Linked DNA regions of Homo sapiens: region 2 is linked to region 1. The links are contacts of gene promoters, found by promoter capture Hi-C in human tissues and cell types (Jung and others, 2019). All regions are on one chromosome and are shown on one strand. The core of a region is centred on a gene start or on the middle of the fragment in contact, and the rest is flanking DNA. Distances in the headings are between cores, read along the strand shown. Region 1 holds the start of FAM110C (family with sequence similarity 110 member C). Region 2 has its middle 37 kb from the start of FAM110C.

Evidence for each region. Contacts are between HindIII fragments. The study calls those that stand out against the background at their distance.
Region 2: a contact is called between a fragment that was not itself captured here and the fragment with the promoter of FAM110C in region 1, in 1 of the 25 tissues and cell types used here (H1 embryonic stem cells).

Annotation. Positions count from the first base shown.
Region 1 is chr2:43,168-47,937 of GRCh38, reverse strand. FAM110C (family with sequence similarity 110 member C) reads left to right here and starts at 1,433. Exons shown (of 2, transcript NM_001077710.3): 1 at 1,433-2,498. The coding sequence starts at 1,553. The HindIII fragment of the contact is 12,024 bases long and covers 1-4,770 here.
Region 2 is chr2:81,473-85,926 of GRCh38, reverse strand. No RefSeq gene overlaps it. Among named protein-coding and RNA genes, the nearest start is that of FAM110C, 37 kb to the right of the region's middle. The HindIII fragment of the contact is 9,190 bases long and covers 1-4,454 here.

The sequences.
Region 1 (4,770 bases), core at 184-2,683:
CCAAGCAGAGAGCAGGCTGGACTTTAGACCTCAAGGCCCCATCCTCCCGCATCCTGTAGGAAACCATCTGTGGCAACCCAGGAGCTCCCCCTTTCTCCATCTCTGTCCCTCTCTTTCACTCCCCACCCCCGCATCCTTCCTTCTCTTCTCCCACTCTCTACTTTATTGGCCTAGACTCCTTTTCCTATGAGTCTTACATGTTCCAACGAGGCTGTCTGGGCGGTCTGGCTTTCAGGAGGCGATTTATTGTTGTGCTACTATCCCTATGAAATTTTGCTTCGCTGGGGCTCAAGGAGATTAAAGACCCCCAAGGCCCACTCAGCACCACCCTGCTGCGGTCCTCTTCCTCGTTGGTGAGGTGTTCGTGCCCACTTTGGGGGCCCATCTGCACCTGTCGCCCTCCCTGCCTTCCGGGCTGCTGCTGCTCGGAGCGTTCAACCACAAGGCTGAAAGCACAGCCTGTTACGGAGTTGTCTTCACAACGCGATAACGTGAACATTTCACATGTCTGAGAGATAACTTTAGTATTTTGTCCAAATTTTTGAAATAATGGAGTTTGGGAAGTATTTTATCTTAGACTCTTAGCATTCCTAGGCTGATCCACTGCCTGGTGAACTCGTGGTTTCCCCGTTGCCTCGGTTACCGTAAAAATAGCAATGATTCTGGACACTTGGCTGGGCTTCTTCCAAATCCACTGAGCCGCGCCTGGGGCCCCAGCCTGCCCCACTGAGAGTCCTAGCTCGGTCCTCGGGCCCGGCCACGCCCGCTGCCGGCCAGCGACCGAGTCGGACCCAATCCGAGGCCCTGCGTTCTTGCCACCCAACACGTAGGCTGATCCTGGCGTGCGCTGCGTGTTCTTTCCTCTTATGTCCTATTCCTTTCTGTTAATAAGAATATGAGCTCAGGTAGACAAAATTAAACAGTCAAGTTTCCAAACACGATGAGGTCACTTTAAGAATTCAAAGGATGTGAGGCACCTGCCCGGGGGAGGTGGGGGGACGTCCCCTCTGCTCCCCCTCCCCGGAAATGCCTGCGTCCAGCAGTGACCTCGGGGATCTGGGGCTGAGCGAGTGGGGGTTCAGAGCCTGCTCGCCCCAGCGTCCTCCAGGCGGTTGGCAGCGCCGCCGGAAGGTGAGGGGGGGCGGGGACGGCACCGGGCAGGAGGTGAGGGCCGGGACCCCGGACGCGAGGTGAGGGCGGGCGCTGGCACCCGGAGAGCGGCCAGGGAGGCGGGCCCGGGCGGGAGTGAGGAGGCGGGGACGGGCGGGGACGAGCGGGGATGCGGGGACGCGGCCAGGGCCGGGGCACCGGGCGGGGGCGGGGGCGGTGCCAGTCGGTGTGGGCGATGAGGTCGGGAGGGGCGGGAACTGGGGAGTTTCGCCAATCGGTGCAGACTCCGGTTCTCCCCAACCCCGGGCCTGGGCAGCTGGGCACTGGGGCGCCGTTCCCCACCCGGCGCGGACTTCGGAACCGGCCCTGGGACTGACTGGCTCTACCACTCGAGCGCGTCTCCGCTGGACCCGGAACCCCGGTCGGTCCATTCCCCGCGAAGATGCGCGCCCTGGCGGCCCTGAGCGCGCCCCCGAACGAGCGGCTCCTTCCCCGGGACCCCGCGGCTACCCGGGACCCCGACGCCGCGCGGCCGGCGCGCAGGAGCGCAGTGGAGAGGCTGGCGGCGGATCGCGCCAAGTATGTGCGGGGTCGGCCGGGGACTGGCCGGGGCGTCGCTTCCGAGGGCAGCGGCCCGGGGGCGATCAAGTGCCCGGGGAACGACCCTGGGCCCCCGGCCCGCGCCCCGGCCCCGGTGGCGCGCAGGGCTATTGCGCGGAAGCCGTTGAGACCGGACTCGCTGATCATCTACCGGCAGAAATGCGAATTCGTGCGAGGATCGGGCGCCGACGGCCCCAGGGCAAGCCTGGTGAAGAAGCTCTTCCAGGGGCCGGGTAAGGACAAGGCGCCGGTGCCCCGGACGGGAGACGAGGGCAAGGCCGGGAACCCGGAGACGGTCCCGACCACTCCTGGCCCCGCGGCGGACCCCGCAATCCCCGAGACCCCAGCCCCAGCCGCGCGGTCCGCGGCGCCCTCCAGTGTCCCGGCCGCGCCCCCTGGGCCAGAGCCGCGGGTGGTGAGGCGTCGGGGGCTGCAGCGCTCACAGTCGGACCTCAGCTCCCGCTATTCCGCTGCCTTGGCCGAGTCTGACACCTTCTTCCAGTACTGCGGCCTGGACCCCGAGGTGGTGGAGGCCCTGGGGAGGGAGAACTTCACCGCGGGGTCGGACTGTGTGACCCTCAAGGTGCGCAGCGTGAGCGTCGCCACCTCCGGCAGCGGCTTCTCCCGGCACAGCGGCGGCGACGACGAGGGGCTGCAGGAGGAGGAGCTGATAGAGCAGGTGCCCAGCACCACTTCGGTCATCGAGAGGAACGCCCGCATCATCAAGTGGCTGTACACCTGTAAGAAGGCCAAGGAGACCCCCAGCCAGGAGCAGAGCCGGACCCGAGGTGTGTGCCCAGAAGGCTGGGGGCGGGGCTGGCCGTGTGCGGGGCTGTGAATCTTGGTGAGTGTGACCGAGCTGGGCGATGGCCAGTTACAGCTGCTTAGAATTGAGTGCGATTTTGAGCTACAGTGTGAAAGGGACCCAAGAGACTGACGCAGAGGCTTGTGAGTTGAGCCCCCGCTGCTGAAGAGCAGAAGGTACCAATCCAGGCACCTGCTGGTCCAGGCCCTTAGGAGTCTGCTGCGTCTGGCTGCCTGGAAAGGCAATTCTGCAAATTAATATGTCCCATTTGGCTTATTATTGTGAAAACAGGAGAAATCCAAAATGCTGCCAGAAAGCAGTTTTACACCCCTAGTATTCTTTCCTGAGCTGAAAACAGCTTGAGAGCCCTAGTTCCTGAGTTCATTGACCTGTGCTGTGGGCGGTCCTGATGTTTGATTGGAGCTGACCAGTCCACCTGCAGCCCTAGGTAGGCGCTGCTGTGTTACTGGAACAGAAAGGAAGACTCCCTGCACTTTCCTGGAGGCCTGTGCTGAAGTGGTGAGAACTTCTCCACAGGATCTTGTAGCACTTTGGCATTCACTTAGCAACAAAGATCTTTATTTGGCTAAATTTTATTTAAATTGTTTTGAGAGCTTCAGGTTTTTAAACTGGGGAAATTGGACTAGATTGTAACTAGAGTCTATAGTTTATTTGCCTCTGATGACACTACAGGAAGTAACCTCCCTTTGGACAACCAGTAGTGCCGGATTGACCTCGAGCTCTTTTTGCTTTTCACTGGGGAACTGAGGAGTGCTGGTCTTCACTGTTACCTGCTCTTCCCTATGGGCGTCTTGGAAAGTAGTGAAGAGAAAGAACCTTTTCAGGGCTGTCTTTGAGAACGAACAATTTAAACTTTGCGACATCTTTTTTTTCCTCTTACCCTTCAATGACAACTTGCTATAAGTAAATTTTAAAAATCATGAGATGAAATTATTTTCTGCCATTGTGATAAACTAAGTGAAGATGCATGGCAGCCTGTAGAGTTTGGGGGAGGCTGCCCAAGAGATGTTTGCACAGGGCTCACCTATGTTTGACAGCTAAAAATATCTCCAATAATTTCTCTGGCTATGACTTTAGTACAGACATGAAAATTAATGAGAAGAAGATAATTCATTCTTTTTCTTGAACTCAGAAGGCTCAGGACTTAAGTTCTTCCTTATAATTTATAGAAGATTTGTGTTTTCCACTAGCCTAAGTTCCCAACAAATATATATAGGCAAAGTTCTAAAAAGCAAACAAACATTAATTTGTAGTTTTCACAAATTGTCTTTTGGATCTGAGATGAATGAATGCTGGCAAGGGTATTTCCATGATGGCACCATGTGTAGGGCAGGAGCTTTGGAGAGTGGCCAGGTCCGTGGAGGGACAGTGTCTGGTGGATAGAGCACTAAACCAGAATTAAGGGCCTGTCTTATGTTAGCAAATGATTCCTGCACTATAGACCAGGCGTCCTTTGTCCATAAAAAGAAGGGAGATAGGCGGATGGTTTTCAACCTCTACATTTTCTAGTCTGTGTAGTAATAATCTGTGTTGCATGACTGAAACCCAGAAATGGAAAACAAACAAAAAAAAGTTGTCTATTGAAGTACGTGAGAAGTAAATTTATGAATAAGCTCCCTCCAGGTAGCCATAGCATGTGCAGGCAGTAGGTAGACTTGGTGGTATAAATAGTGGGGAGGTAATAATGTGGCATACAAATGAAACCAAAGTAAAACCTGACAACATAAAAATAAAAGCAGCCTGCTCTGATCCCTCCAGACCCAGGCTGGTTCCCATCTCGAATTAGCCAATGTCAAAAGAGTGACCTGAATGAGAATTTAGTTGACTTCATAGACTAAATCCTAAAGACCTTTTAGGCTTGGACCTATGAAAAATATAAGAAGTTTAGTTAGCTTGTGAGAACTTTCACTTTTATGACAAAGAGAAATAGTTGAAGGAAGAGGGAAAGTGAGAGCAGGTTTGGGAAGGCACTAAGGATGGAGGCAGGAAAAAGGCTCATGGGCTTCTTCCTCCCCTCATGTCTCCCTCCACCTGAATCCCGTTTGTTCCAGACTGGAGACAATGGCAACTGTCTTCTGAGAAGTTTCACATTATTTCTCAGAGCAGGGGTACAGTCCCACAGAAGCTACCCCAGTTTTTATATGGAATTGGCAGTCACCAGCACTATAAAGATTTTCTTTACTAATGTACTTCCCTAGACCCAAAACAGCACAGGCCTCTTTGAAACTGCAATG
Region 2 (4,454 bases), core at 69-2,568, 38 kb before region 1:
AGCTCAGCTTTAGTTAATCAGTACTTGAAATGCCTTCTTCCACTGTGATTAGTAATTCTTTATACTCACAGAGCATTACGTTTTACAATATGCTTTCACATGTCTTTGTGAGGTAGGCGTACAATAGTTTGTCATCTGTTCTAAAGATAGTAGAACCAAATTCTGAGAAGTTAAAAAATTTGTTTAAAGGAATAAGCTGTATTGGACAGAGTAAGGGTCAGGGCCCTAATTTTTTACTTCAAGCCTTGATCTTTCCATTAAACGATAGCTGCCCAGGTTGTAGTGTTTTTTGGCTACAGTAGCAGTGCAGGACACCTGCAACTTAGATATTATGGATCAGAAGAGATGTTCTTCATATTTCTCACTCATCAGCAAAAACCTTTTTAGGCCGTGGTACTCATGACCAGACAATGTGTATTCCCCCAAGATTCTGTTCAGTAGAAACGTTTGAAAATTTAAAGACATTCCATTTTTATCAGATGAAATCTTTGAAGAAATAGCATCGTGGTAGAATATAACCTTTGGAATAACAGACCTCAGTTTGAATCCTGCTTCAGGAACTAACTGGCTATTTAATCTGTTGCTGTTTAATGTAAGCTTCTTCATTTGTAAATCTGAAATATTCGTATTTAATACATAGTGCCTAGTACATATTAGGTGCCTAATTAGTGTTTGACAAAACAATATGTAAATACTCTTAAACTAATGAAGTATGTATGTTTTCTGGGAAAGGAGGTAAAATGAAGACAGTGATAACACCATGAAGGGCCCGGAACATACTAGCTGTTCCAAACCCTGGTGATTGTCAGTGCCTTATGTGATCTTATGATGTGAACTAGGTACTCAGAGAATGGGGAAAACAGAAAGCCATATTTTTTTCAATTCTAGAGTTTGGAAGAAGACCTAGCAATTATTTAATTTAGTTCTTTCATTTTACAGATAAACTTTATTACTAATGTTGGCAAGGGGCAACTAAACAAAATATTAGGGGTCCCAAGAAAGTTGGTAGAAGAGGTGTTAGAATTGCCATTCTACAGATGAGAAAAGGGCACTTTGAGGAGTGAGACAATCAGCCCAGGTCTCATCTAATGAGCACAGTGTGGTTCTTAAGCTCAGCTCTTTGGCTGTAAGACCTCATGTTCTTTCTTGTGTCATTGATTTTTTTAAGTCAAGAAACTTACCCTTGTCAGTTACTTTTACCCTTGCCAATAGTTCTTTCTATTCCTGAATAATGGTTGTCATGCATCTATTGTTACCTGTTGTTTTGCCTTTTTCTCTGTACTTCTATAATATCTCTGATAATATCTACCTCTAGATAAAATAGAAAGAGGAAAAAATACAGTCTACTTTGTGTAAGTGCCTGGAGCAGGCTCAGGGAGTCTGTACGACAATGAATGTTTTCTGAGGGCAGTGGTTGGAATATATGCACATTTTTCTCTTTTATTGATGAGTGCCCACTGATTTACCACTTCAGATTTCCTCAGAGTGTCCCAAAATACTAGTAACTACTAACAGGAAAGCAGGTGGCACTGCATATCGGAAATGCTGGTAATGCCCACATGGTGCTTAGTAACTACGAATTACAGCCTGCAATGACTTGGGAAGCAGGTGCCAGGAAACAGCCACATTTGAATCCATGCAGAGCTGTTCATCCATGAGCTCATTTTCAACACTGCAGTAATTCTTGAACTGAAAGCCACAGCCCTGATGCCAACAGAGGTAGATGCTTTTGTTTTTCTTGCTTTCTTAGCATAGTGCTTTGATTGCATGCAAATGAGACTCTTAAAGAAAAATTAGCAAAAGTTTCTTTAAGAGAACAGCCCTGAAGAGCCAAGCTGAAAAATTCAGTGGCAGAATGGTAAGAATATAAATGTTTCAAGTGAAAAAAAAGAAGATGGAGTTTCTGACTCTAAGATAAGCTATATGTGCTGATTGCAAACCTCTGTGTGGTTGAATATTCTCATCTTACTTAAAATAATAACTGCTATACAAGTCTATGATATGGATAAAATGTGCAAATGAAAATTAGAAAAATTTTGTAAAACATTAAGCAGTTTTTTAAGAACTCAGAGCATGTTATCTGTCTTGCTTCACTTATCCCCAGAAATCCTCTTACCCCCATATTACAGATGCTAGAATCAAACCCAATATTCCACAGCAAGTTATGCCAAAGTCAGGAGAATATTGCAAGTTTCTTGACCCTGGGAGCTATGTGGTGAAATAAAGAAGACATGTTTTATATGTTTTTGGTGCAGTTTTCCTGCTGCTAGTCATTAGCTGATTATTGAAAATGTATACCACACACCATTTCCCCTTACTTCATTACAGGTTAGATACACTTGGCATGGATTTGAGGTTGGAGAAAGATTAAAGACCACAACATAACTACACAAGTCATAGTCAGGGCTTTTTAAAGTTATAGATAAAGAATTATTAAGAAAATAAAGACATATGCCCCAGAGAGGTTGTGATTGTCATCTAATTATTTAATCCTTAAATGCCTTCTTCAGAAGTTAATTAAACAATTGAGGAAAAAGAAGAATTGTTTTGATGTTGATCTGGAGGAGAAAAAAAAACCTCAATGTGAACATGAGATTAAAAAAACTTACCTATCCCTATCAAGTAGACAATTTCAATACCTTAATTCTTGTCATTACAAAAGGTACATTTAAATGACACAGTGGTTGCTAGTCCATCCCTACTCTCAGGAAGGGGGGCATGGGAAGGGGATATGGTACCCTCTTCTGCCCTTATGGTCAGGGGCTGGCCTTGTACCTTGAGTAAGCCCTTGGTGCTCTCCTGTTGAAGACAAACAAGTCAGAGAACATCAGCATCAGACAGCATCAGACAACATCAGTCATGGAATAAGGCAAAAACAAGATTCCCCAACAATCACATCTGAACACAGACAAAATATGAACATTTTCCAAGCCACAGAACTGCAAATATCCCCTTCTCCTGGATAATGTGAGTGACGGCTACATCTTTACCAGTTACAGGTTCAGCCTAGATCTAGTCCTTCGTCTTTCTCGGTAAGACTTACTGAGGCATCAAATTAAAAATTTTCTCTTATTTCCTGAGAAGATCCAATCCAAAGACAGTCCTAGTTCCTTAGATTCCCCCCACCCCAAATTACCAAGCACAAGTCAAATCCTATAATAGGTTCTTTCTAACACCCTCCGGCTGGAAAGCTCTGCCATTCCACCTGGTCTTTGTTCTCTCTTTTCAAATAGTAAACCCAACTTGTGCCCCTGGTGATGTTTAGCTAGGAGACATTAACATCAGGACGAGGTTAGACAGAAGACATACTGACAACATTTTACATCTTGATCTAGATAGTAGTTACATTAGTGTTCATGTAATAATTCATTAAAGCATACATTTATGTTTTCCATACTTTCTTTACATGTGTGTAATATTTCTTAATGAAAATTATGTTTTAAAAATGTGCATTGGATACAGAAATATATTCTTAGCCCAGGAATAAAATATTCCCTTTAGACAAGTTATTGGCTGAGATCATACACAGATATCAATAATTGAATTATTTTTAATCCTAGAAACACAAGTCCCCTATTTAGACATTAATAGTGTGAGGGAGAAAAAAGATGAGAAATAGACCAATATTCCAAAATGGTAGTGATAGTTCATATTGATAAAGACATTCTTGTCTTTGTCTTCCCTTGTCAAATGTACTTGAATCAAGACTACCAAATTAATTAAAATTAGTGGGTCAAAGAATGTGGGTACACATTTGTTTATATCAGTCAGGAAGACACCAAGAAATTTTCACATTGGGTCTCTGCTTGGTGGAACAGACGAAGTCCCACTTAACCTGTTTGGCTTCCTAATAATCATGGGCTTAGCTTAACAAGGCATCAGTGGTGGGTTAGCTGTCTTTTGAAGACTAAAATAGATCACCCCTTGCAGGTTGCCTCACCTTGTGATGAGGGGCTGGGCCAGGTGATTTCCGAGCCCCTCTGGCTCTGAATCTGATCTACCATGAGCCATGCCACCTCTCAGCATGGCTTGTGAACAGCTATCAACTGTTCCTATCCCCCCTGCAAGGGCACAGCATCACTACAACAGGGAGCTGCTCCCAGCACTTTCATCAACGTGTTCCATGCGGACTGCTGAGGATGTCTTCCCTCTATTCAAACTGTCTTCCAGGGTCCAAAAAGATGTTCTTTCCATAAGGAATAGCAAGAGAATATTTGAAGTGAACAAATGTACTTGTCCGTAGTTTAGAGAGCTTCGTGGTTTCCACAAGAACCTACCAGTTAGAACACTCACGGGTTTATCACTTCAGGTACTTGCTAGCTGGACGGAGAATTAAGCAATGAGAAGGTGCCCAGCATTCAGTTGGGTGCACTGCTGACCATGTGGGGGCATTGCTCTGCCTCTCTAGAACACAGACGGTCCCAGCGTGGTTTGAGAGGTCACATCACATCTCT